Linked DNA regions of Homo sapiens: all the other regions are linked to region 2. Evidence: promoter capture Hi-C in 16 types of primary human blood cells and fetal thymus (Javierre and others, 2016). All regions are on one chromosome and are shown on one strand. The core of a region is centred on a gene start or on the middle of the fragment in contact, and the rest is flanking DNA. Distances in the headings are between cores, read along the strand shown.

The links. The method cuts DNA at HindIII sites, captures the fragments that hold promoters and counts their contacts. A CHiCAGO score of 5 or more calls a contact.
Region 1: a fragment that was not itself captured here is called in contact with the fragment with the promoter of FGFR1 in region 2 in 1 of 17 cell types (naive CD8 T cells); the score reaches 5.5 in naive CD8 T cells.
Region 3: the fragment with the promoter of BRF2 here is called in contact with the fragment with the promoter of FGFR1 in region 2 in 10 of 17 cell types (non-activated CD4 T cells, activated CD4 T cells, naive CD4 T cells and 7 more); the score reaches 14.6 in non-activated CD4 T cells.

The regions. Positions count from the first base shown.
Region 1 is chr8:37,881,363-37,884,439 of GRCh38, reverse strand. All of the region lies in intron 1 of RAB11FIP1 (RAB11 family interacting protein 1), which reads left to right. Among named protein-coding and RNA genes, the nearest start is that of RAB11FIP1, 17 kb to the left of the region's middle. RefSeq lists enhancers at 978-1,097, 2,506-2,615, 3,013-3,077. The HindIII fragment of the contact is 2,380 bases long and covers 638-3,017 here.
Region 2 is chr8:38,466,996-38,470,087 of GRCh38, reverse strand. It overlaps FGFR1 (fibroblast growth factor receptor 1), which reads left to right and starts at 1,453. Exons shown (of 18, transcript NM_023110.3): 1 at 1,453-2,107. RefSeq lists enhancers at 1,121-1,290, 727-1,713 and silencers at 1,571-1,640, 1,911-2,040, 2,051-2,170. The HindIII fragment of the contact is 10,295 bases long and covers 1-3,092 here.
Region 3 is chr8:37,848,180-37,851,314 of GRCh38, reverse strand. It overlaps BRF2 (BRF2 general transcription factor IIIB subunit), which reads left to right and starts at 1,454. Exons shown (of 4, transcript NM_018310.4): 1 at 1,454-1,685; 2 at 2,660-2,719. The coding sequence starts at 1,532. RefSeq lists enhancers at 1,249-1,598, 1,639-1,778. The HindIII fragment of the contact is 8,285 bases long and covers 1-3,135 here.

The sequences.
Region 1 (3,077 bases), core at 578-3,077, 590 kb after region 2:
TCCAGCCTGGACAACAGAGCAAGACCCCATCTCAAAATATATATGTGTGTGTATATAGTTTATAGAAATTTTATGTTGGCCGGGTGTGGTAGCTCACGCCTGTATTCCCAGCACTTTGGGAGGCCGAAGCAGGTGGATCATGAGGTCAGGAGTTCGATACCAGCCTGGCCAAGATGGTGAAACCCTGTCTCTAGTAAAAATACAAAAATTAGCCGGATGCAGTGGTGTGCGCCTGTACTCCCAGCTACTCGGGAGGCTGAGGGAGGAGAATCACTTGAACCTGGGCGACGGTGGTTGCAGTGAGCTGAGATCATGCCACTGTACTCCAGCCTGGGCAATAGACAATAGAATGAGACTCTGTCTCAAAAATAAATAAATAAATAAATAAATAAATAAAATTATGTCACTTTCTACATATCCAGAGATCCTTTTAATTCTTGCAGGACTGAGTTTAATGATAAGCAATAATAATTTGTTTATTGAAGGGATCATTTGATTTTTACTTTTGATAGGTGGCAAGATTTTTTCAGAATATGGGCTTAAAAATAAACTTGCTACATTGGGATTATGGCTCTCTTTTTCTGCCCTTTGGACTAGGGAAATGGACCCAACCCTGATTTCTGAGATAATTCAAGCTTTCAGGGCCTACGTGAAAGATAATACTGGAACACACCCACGCTGCCATCACATGCTGTGTTGCTAGGCTGGGACTTTATTATTTATGAGCTACTTCTGTGAGGTGCAGGAATTAAGTGAACTGAAAAACACATGGGCAGTAACACTTAGAAACTGGGTTGATCTTAAATATAAAAATCCCCAGATGTGTTCTTCTGGTTTGGGATTTCTTAGGGCAAGATATTCAAGCACTGTGGCTTTCACTGTCTTATCAAAGTATGCTTCTATCAAACATCCCTTGCTTAAACTGTTTTTGAATTTGAGGATAATATTGCTAGTAAAAGAAACAATTCTTGGCTGGGCACAGTGGCTCACGCCTGTAATCCCAACACTTGGGGAGGCTGAGGCAGGCGGATCACCTGAGGTCAAGAGTTTGAGACCAGCCTGGCCAACATAAAATTAGTTGGGCATAGTTGCGCACGCCTGTAATCCCAGCTACTCAGCAAGCTGAGGCAGGAGAATCGGTTGAACCCAGGAGGAGGAGGTTGCAGTGAGCTGAGATCACGTCACTGCACTCCAGCCTGGGCGATAGAGTGAGACTCAGTCTCTAAAACAAACAGACAAACAAACAAACACCAAGAAAAAAAAACCAGAAAAAAAAAAAAACGAAACAATTCTTGTTTTGCTTTCCAGCTTTAATACATGGAGCACAGATTTGTAAATTCTGCCTCTTTGCCTGGGCTGTTTCCCTGCTGGCCTGTGATTCAGCCTGTTTCATATCCTTCAATAGCCCCGTGGCTGGTGCCTGGCTACCTGGTGTTTGGCTTTAGGTTTGCTTGTGAAATTAAGCAGCAAGAACAGTTGGTGACGTTTATATTTGCACTTCCTAATGGTGTTGGAAGTTTCCAAAGCAAATCCCACTTTAGGACCCAGGGATTGGACCTGAGAATCAGGTAATAATTGGTCCCGAGGGAGGATTCTGGAATCGGTTGTAGTTTTGCTCAAAAACCATTAGGAAGTGCAAAGAAAACCTCACTGATACTTTCGGAAAGGCAAGGCTGGCCCTTGGAATTGTCAACTGGCTATGTTACAGGAAAGGGGTCCTGATCCAGACCCCAAAAGAGAGTGTTTGGTCTCCCGCAAGAAAGAATTCAGGGCAAGTCTGCAGTGCAAAGTAAAAGCAAGTTTATTAAGAAAGCAAAGTATTGAAGGTACAGCTACTCCATAGACAGAGTAGGACGTTCCCGAAAGTAAGAGGAGGAACACCTCCACTCTAGGCACTATGCTTATTCATACACAGGATAAAAAGATCATTGAGAGATGTGCCCTACTACAAGGGTTTGTGATAAAGGATTAATTTTCTTAATTACTATATTTTGTGAGAATCAATATTATTAGCTTCAAAGCAAAATTAGGATAGCCTTTGTTCTCCAGATTTGGGGATATTAGAACACTCCCAAGTCTGGGTCTGTTTGGTAAACATTATCCATCTGTTCCCTTACCCATAAACATCTAGAGGCTAGGAATACCTAACTTTCTGGGAATGCAGCGCAGCAAGTCCCAGCCTCATTTTCCTAGCCCTCACTCAAGATGGAGTTGCACTGGTTTGAATGCCTCTGACAGCTGCTTTGGAGGCCTGTCACATTTGTGCATCCCCGTGGAGGGCTAATAGAAGGGCCCGTGTGGAAGAGCTGTGGAGAAACCCCTGCCTGAAGCTCCTGCCCTGGGCGGGGAGGTGAAGCGTGCTGCCCGCCTGCGGTTGGTGAGGTCATCGAAACCTCCTCAGTTAGCGTTCAGCAACTTCTCCTTTTCAGGTGCCTGCAACTGGTATTTACAAAAGCTAAACACCCTTCATCACCAAGGCTACCATTTACCACATGACTGTCAGAAGAGAAAAATATAAATAATCCTCTCAAAATTGAAGTGACAAATATGCAGACAATTCCAGGCCAGGCCCTGGAAAATGTATTGGACAGACACTAGGCTGGCAAGGGTGACATTGTCTATAAAGACCTTGCATTTTCCACTTGAGCCCAGGAGTCCAGGGCTGCAGTGAGCTATGATCGCACCACTGCACTCCAGCCTGGGCAAGAGAGTGAGACCCTGTTGCAAAAAATAAAAAATAAAAAAAGACCTTGCGTCTTGCAACACCCACCACTCCCCGCCTGCCCAGCTCTGGATTGAGGTTATAAAAACCATAAAAGATTTGTCTCCTAAGGGTCCAAAATTATAGCTCATATAATTTTATCCTCTCCTTGCTGTATTTTGTGAATTCATTTTAAGTTCTTCTTGATGACTTTGTATACTGGCCTTTAAGTAATCTCAACGATTTATGACTGATGGCAAGCTATGTTAGTTTCCTTCCTTTCTTCTTTCATCTTTGGACATTTAAATGAGAAGCTTAAATGTTTCTCAAAAAGAATTTAAATTTGAACCCTCTTTTCTCTATGTTACAAAAGATG
Region 2 (3,092 bases), core at 204-2,703:
CAGGCAAGCGCCACCATGCCTGGCTAATTTTTTTGTATTTTAGTAGAGACGGGGTTTCACCTTGTTGGCAAGGATAGTCTCGATCTCCCGACCTCGTGATCCACCCGCCTCGGCCTCCCAAAGTGCTGGGATTACAGGCATAAGCCACCGCACCCGGCCAACTCTTTTCTTAAATTAGCCAGGGAGGCGTGGGTGGGTTGGGTGAGGAGTTGGGTGGGGGGATCTCATTCAGTATTCAAACTTCTACAAGTTTCGGGGTTGAGGTGGGTGATGGTAAGGGAACAGGCCCTGCCACTACCTTTCATAGTGACTTCCATTTGTGTAATATTTTTGGTCCACTGAGAGCTATTATTTTATTTGATTCTTATGACCATCTTGTGAAGGAGTATCAACAGATACCCCGTTTTGATTTTATCAGATGCATGATTTGTCCTACATCAAACTTCATAAATGATGGACAGAATGGAGGAATCCTTCAGACCAAGTGCTGCCTACTTCCCACCCCAATGGTGGCCTCAGCCTGGGCTCACATCACACGCCCCAAGGAGCCTTGGAAAAAATAAAGGCTCTTGGCTCCTTCCTGGGACAGCGTGATTCCTCATGTCTGAGCAGGCCCATGAACTTGTATTTTTCAGACGTTCCCTAGGACCCGTGTCCATCTGGATTAGGGAACCACTACATTATACCACTTCGCGGGAAGACTCAGGGGGAAGCATTTTAGCCACTTTCCTGTGTTCCACAGTACTGGAGGGTGTTCTGAGTGGGCTGTGATTAATTTCCAAACCAACCACACGTCTCCCCTCAACTCCCACTGCTTACTCTTTGCTTCCTAGACATTCACTGCAGGCTGGAGACTTCTGGAAGCCAACAGCATCGCTGTAGAATTTACAGGGTCCAGTTCCCGGTGGACCACAAAACCTAAATTATGTGGCTGGGGAAAGCTGAAATCCAAGGGAAGGGTTTGAGGAGGGGCTGACCTTATAATAAAACCGGCTTGTATTTACTAAGTGTTAACTATGCGCTAGGCCCTCGTTGACGCCTCAACTCTATGTGAAAAGCACTATTATCCCCCATTTACAGATGGGAAAACAGAGATTTAGAGCGCGAAAATCATTTCCCCAAGGCGCACAGACTCCAAAGCCCACGCTACCAGGTACAACCTCAAGGCTGCGGCGTCTCTTCACCTGCCCCCTAGCCCCCAAACCGCTGCTATGTCTAGGGCCTGACATTCCGGCGCCCTCTGGGACGTGCTCAGATGCAGGGGCGCAAACGCCAAAGGAGACCAGGCTGTAGGAAGAGAAGGGCAGAGCGCCGGACAGCTCGGCCCGCTCCCCGTCCTTTGGGGCCGCGGCTGGGGAACTACAAGGCCCAGCAGGCAGCTGCAGGGGGCGGAGGCGGAGGAGGGACCAGCGCGGGTGGGAGTGAGAGAGCGAGCCCTCGCGCCCCGCCGGCGCATAGCGCTCGGAGCGCTCTTGCGGCCACAGGCGCGGCGTCCTCGGCGGCGGGCGGCAGCTAGCGGGAGCCGGGACGCCGGTGCAGCCGCAGCGCGCGGAGGAACCCGGGTGTGCCGGGAGCTGGGCGGCCACGTCCGGACGGGACCGAGACCCCTCGTAGCGCATTGCGGCGACCTCGCCTTCCCCGGCCGCGAGCGCGCCGCTGCTTGAAAAGCCGCGGAACCCAAGGACTTTTCTCCGGTCCGAGCTCGGGGCGCCCCGCAGGGCGCACGGTACCCGTGCTGCAGTCGGGCACGCCGCGGCGCCGGGGCCTCCGCAGGGCGATGGAGCCCGGTCTGCAAGGAAAGTGAGGCGCCGCCGCTGCGTTCTGGAGGAGGGGGGCACAAGGTCTGGAGACCCCGGGTGGCGGACGGGAGCCCTCCCCCCGCCCCGCCTCCGGGGCACCAGCTCCGGCTCCATTGTTCCCGCCCGGGCTGGAGGCGCCGAGCACCGAGCGCCGCCGGGAGTCGAGCGCCGGCCGCGGAGCTCTTGCGACCCCGCCAGGACCCGAACAGAGCCCGGGGGCGGCGGGCCGGAGCCGGGGACGCGGGCACACGCCCGCTCGCACAAGCCACGGCGGACTCTCCCGAGGCGGAACCTCCACGCCGAGCGAGGTAAGAGCCGCGGCGCCCCCGGATCTGGGGCGGGCTTGGCGTCCCGAGCGGCCCCCGGCGCCGGAGCCTCCCGGCTGCGCGCTTTGCCCGCCGCAGCCCAGCCGGGGCCGGCGCCTCCCTCCGCTCGCCGCCCGCCCCTTTCACCTCCTGGCTCCCTCCCGGGCGATCCGCGCCCCTTGGGTCTCCCCTCCCTTCCCTCCGTCCGCGTCTCCTGCGCCCCCTCCCTGCGCTCGTCCCGCCGCTCTTCCCGCCGCCCAACTTTTCCTCCAACTCGCGCTCGGGAGCTGGCGAGGCGGCGGCGGCTCCTCAGTGAGTCCCGGGAGGGACAGGCCCGGGGCGAAGGCGGCGAGGCCCGCGGTTTCCTGGACTGGGGAGGAGGGCGGGAGTGGGCGGCGAGGTGGGATGCGTTGTGTGTGTTATGTGTGTGTGTTGCATTCCACTCCATGTCTTTTTGGTCCCCTTTTGGGGATTCACCCCCAATTCAGCAGGTAGCTTTGGGCTCAACGCTAAAAATCCGGGGCATTCCTAAGTCCTTTTCCACCCCCGGGAAAGCCTGGGGTGCGGGTTGGGGTCGGATGGGGTGGGAGATGAACTGCGGAGGACGTGGAGGGCTAGGTTAGCTTCTCTTGGAATAGGTTTTAAGGAGGTGTCGTCACCAAATGGCTGAATCTGCTTGAGCTGAGAGCGAAAAACGACTCCCCTTTCCAGAAGGGGTGATCTTATGACTTGGACGGTCTCTGAAAGGGTCGGAAGTTTGGGGAACGGGAGGACAACCCACGGTCGTTAAGCCGAGGTGTGGGATGGGGGCGGAAGGACCGTTCGGTCCCAATCTGGTTCCTAGAGGTGGGGGAAGGGATGAGGGTTTTTGTCCGGTGTGGTTCACTCGGCAGCGATGCGTATGCTTCTCTGGCCCAGACCCCTCTGCACCTCGCTTCCCCTACCGTTATGTTTGGGGTTGGGAGAAAAGTGAGGCTACGACCCATGT
Region 3 (3,135 bases), core at 205-2,704, 620 kb after region 2:
TGTGATCATGCAAGGAACTGTTCCCAGTGCAAGTTATGTCGCTTTCAGGGACACTTTCTTCATCCAAATAAGAATGTCAACCACACTAAAACTAATGGATGTCTCTGAGTGGTGTGTGTGTGCGGGTGCGCATGTGCAAATGTATCTTAATATTTAACTGTCAGACAGCCAGAAATAAGCTCTCATCCTGTATCTCACGCTAGTGGGGAGGTCTAGAAAAGGCGGGGGGGCTTGGACTGCCGGATCCCACCCACGATTAATGTGCTGAAGCCCCCTTCTGTTATGATACTAAAGTAATTCAAATTGAAGAGAAAGGACCGTTGGGTATTATTGTGTCTCTTGGCCCTCCAATGTGAGCGATCCCCATGGGAATGGACGGGATGTCTCTGAAAAGGAGTAGTGATTCTCACACTCTGAGAAAGCAGTCTCTTAGGGAAGGGATGGTGTCTTTAGGTTTGGATATCACGTGTAAAAACTGGGTGTGGAAAAGAAGGGAGTGACACTTCTTAAAGGTATGTTTTATTTTGTTTGAGATGGAGTCTCGCTCTGCCACCCAGGCTGGAGTGCAGTGGCGCGATCTTGGCTCACTGCGCCTCCTGCGCCTCCTGGGTTCAAGCGATTCTCCTGCCTCAGCCTCCTGAGTAGCTGGGATTAGAGACGTGCACCACCACGCCCAGCTAATTTTTGTGTATTTTTAGTAGAGACGGGATTTCACCATGTTGCCCAGGCTGGTCTCAAACTCCCGAGCTCAGGTGATCCACCTGCCTCGGCCTTCCAAAGTGCTGGGATTACAGGCGTGAGCCACCACGCCCAGATAGCTCAAGGTTTTTTAAAAAACATCTGAATCTGCGTGCTTGCGCCGCTCCAGGTCTCCATCACTCCATATTCTTTCACTCCAAACTCCTTTAGACATTCCTGCCTGGCCTCCAAAAGCGTTTGGGTTTGCATCTCTGGATTTTTTTTTCAACTTCCTCATTTTACAGTTGAGAAAAACAGGAGGTAAAGAGAGGAAGGAATCTGCTTTAGGAAGCAGCTCTGGAAAGCAGAACACAGTTTCCTGCTCCCGCTCTCTCTCCACTACTCTCCCTTTAAAAAATATACTTTCTTCTATGGCCAATTAAACATTCATTACCAACCTGCGATTCCCTTAGGACTTTAAAAGGAGGGTTGTTCAGGGGTGACAACAATCTTCTGTCTGTTATACGTGTCCATGTAGGCAAAAACTTTCCCAAATTCAACCCCAGTCTAGGTCCCAAAAACTAACTACAGAGTGCAGGGAAACCAGACAGCTACAGTTCAGCCCAGGAACCTCCTCTCCTAGCTCACGTTTCTACCCGAGCCCGCGGAGGCACAGACCGGAAGTGGCGCGCAGCCTCCCAGCGGAGGGAACCGCCTATGCCTCCGTCGCGCTGGCCGGAAGACGGGGGTGCAACCCTTTGAAGTGTCCCCTCCTACTTCTTGCTGCCTCACGGTTGCTGTTGCAGACCCAGGAGTCTCTGAAGGCTTCCGCGGCTTTGGGGCCGGTTGTGAGATGCCAGGCAGAGGCCGCTGCCCGGACTGCGGCTCCACGGAGCTGGTGGAAGACTCGCACTATTCGCAGAGCCAGCTGGTGTGCTCCGACTGCGGCTGCGTGGTCACCGAGGGGGTCCTTACCACTACCTTCAGCGACGAGGGCAATCTCCGAGGTACTTGTGGCCCTGGGGACAGCCTGGGGCGGTGGAGGGATTAACATCAGATTCCTTTTGCCTCCCCGCTCCCCCCATACTCCTAACTGTAACGCACACACTTAATTTGAGAGAAAATGACCTAAAGTGAGCGAGGGAGCTGAAGGAGATGGGGGCTGCCATTCATCTGTGTTTTCCCAGCACTTAGTATCGGGCATAGATGGTGCGTGTAATAAATATTGAATAAGTGAGACAGAAACAAAAGTTCCACTCATCTTGCCATGTCTGGTCATTGTGGAAGGATTGCCGATACGATTATAGCAGGTATTATTACCCTGAAATAGTTTTAAGCACAAACTGGCAAAACATCACTTTTCTTTGCTTTCCAAGTTTCTGACCAGTGCAGCCCTCAAAATCTGCAGCCATTGTCTGGGTGGGGTGGCTTACGCCTGTAATCCCAGTGCTTTGGGAGGCAGAGCCGAGAGGATTGCTTGAGCCCAGGATCTCGAGACCAGCCTTGGTAACGTAACGAGACAAGTGCCTAAAAAAATTTTTTTTTAATTAGCCAGGTATGGTGGCATACACCTGTAATCCCAGCTACCCAGGAATCTGAGGTAGGAGGATTGCTTGAGCCTGGAAGTTGAAGGCTGCCGTGAGCTGTGATCGCACCACTGTGCTCCAGCCTGGACTATAGAGGGAAACTCCTTAAACAAACAACAACAAAATCTGCTGCTAGGAAAATTGCCTGTATGGAATGTACTGGAAGGATGACTGGAAATTTGGAACACTTGGAGCTGCTTTAATGCAGTCCTAACCTTTCCCAGTCTCTGTGTATTCGGAACCTCTTGTAGACATAGAAAACCAGATGGGGCCTTTAACTGTGCAGCAGCAGATGCTCAATGATTTGAATTTTGCGTCCTGGTTTTGTGTGGTGGGAGGGCAGGGGTCTGATGAATAAAGGCTAAGCACACTATTTGTTGTTTATTATCTTACAGAGGTAACATATTCCCGAAGCACAGGGGAAAACGAACAAGTTAGTCGCAGCCAGCAACGAGGTGAGAATTGACCTTTTACAACACAGTGGCTTTAAAGAAAACTATCCTAGGCCAGGTGCTGTGGCTCACGCCTGTAATCCCAGCACTTTGGGAGGCCTAGGCAGGTGGATCACCTGAGGTCAGGAGTTCAAGACCAGCCTGGCAAACATAGCGAAACCCCGTCTCTACTAAAAATACAAAAATTAGCTGGGCATGGTGGCATGTACCTGTAGTCCCAGCTACTTGGCAGGCTGAGGCAGGAGAATCGCTTGAACCTGGGAGGTGGAGGTTGCAGTGAGCTGAGATCGCGCCACTGCACTCCAGCCTGGGTGACAGAGTGAGACTCCATCTCAAAAAAATAATAATGAGCCGGGCGCGGTGGCTCATGCCTGTAATCCCAGCACTTTGGGAGGCCGAGGCGGGCGGATCACGAGGTC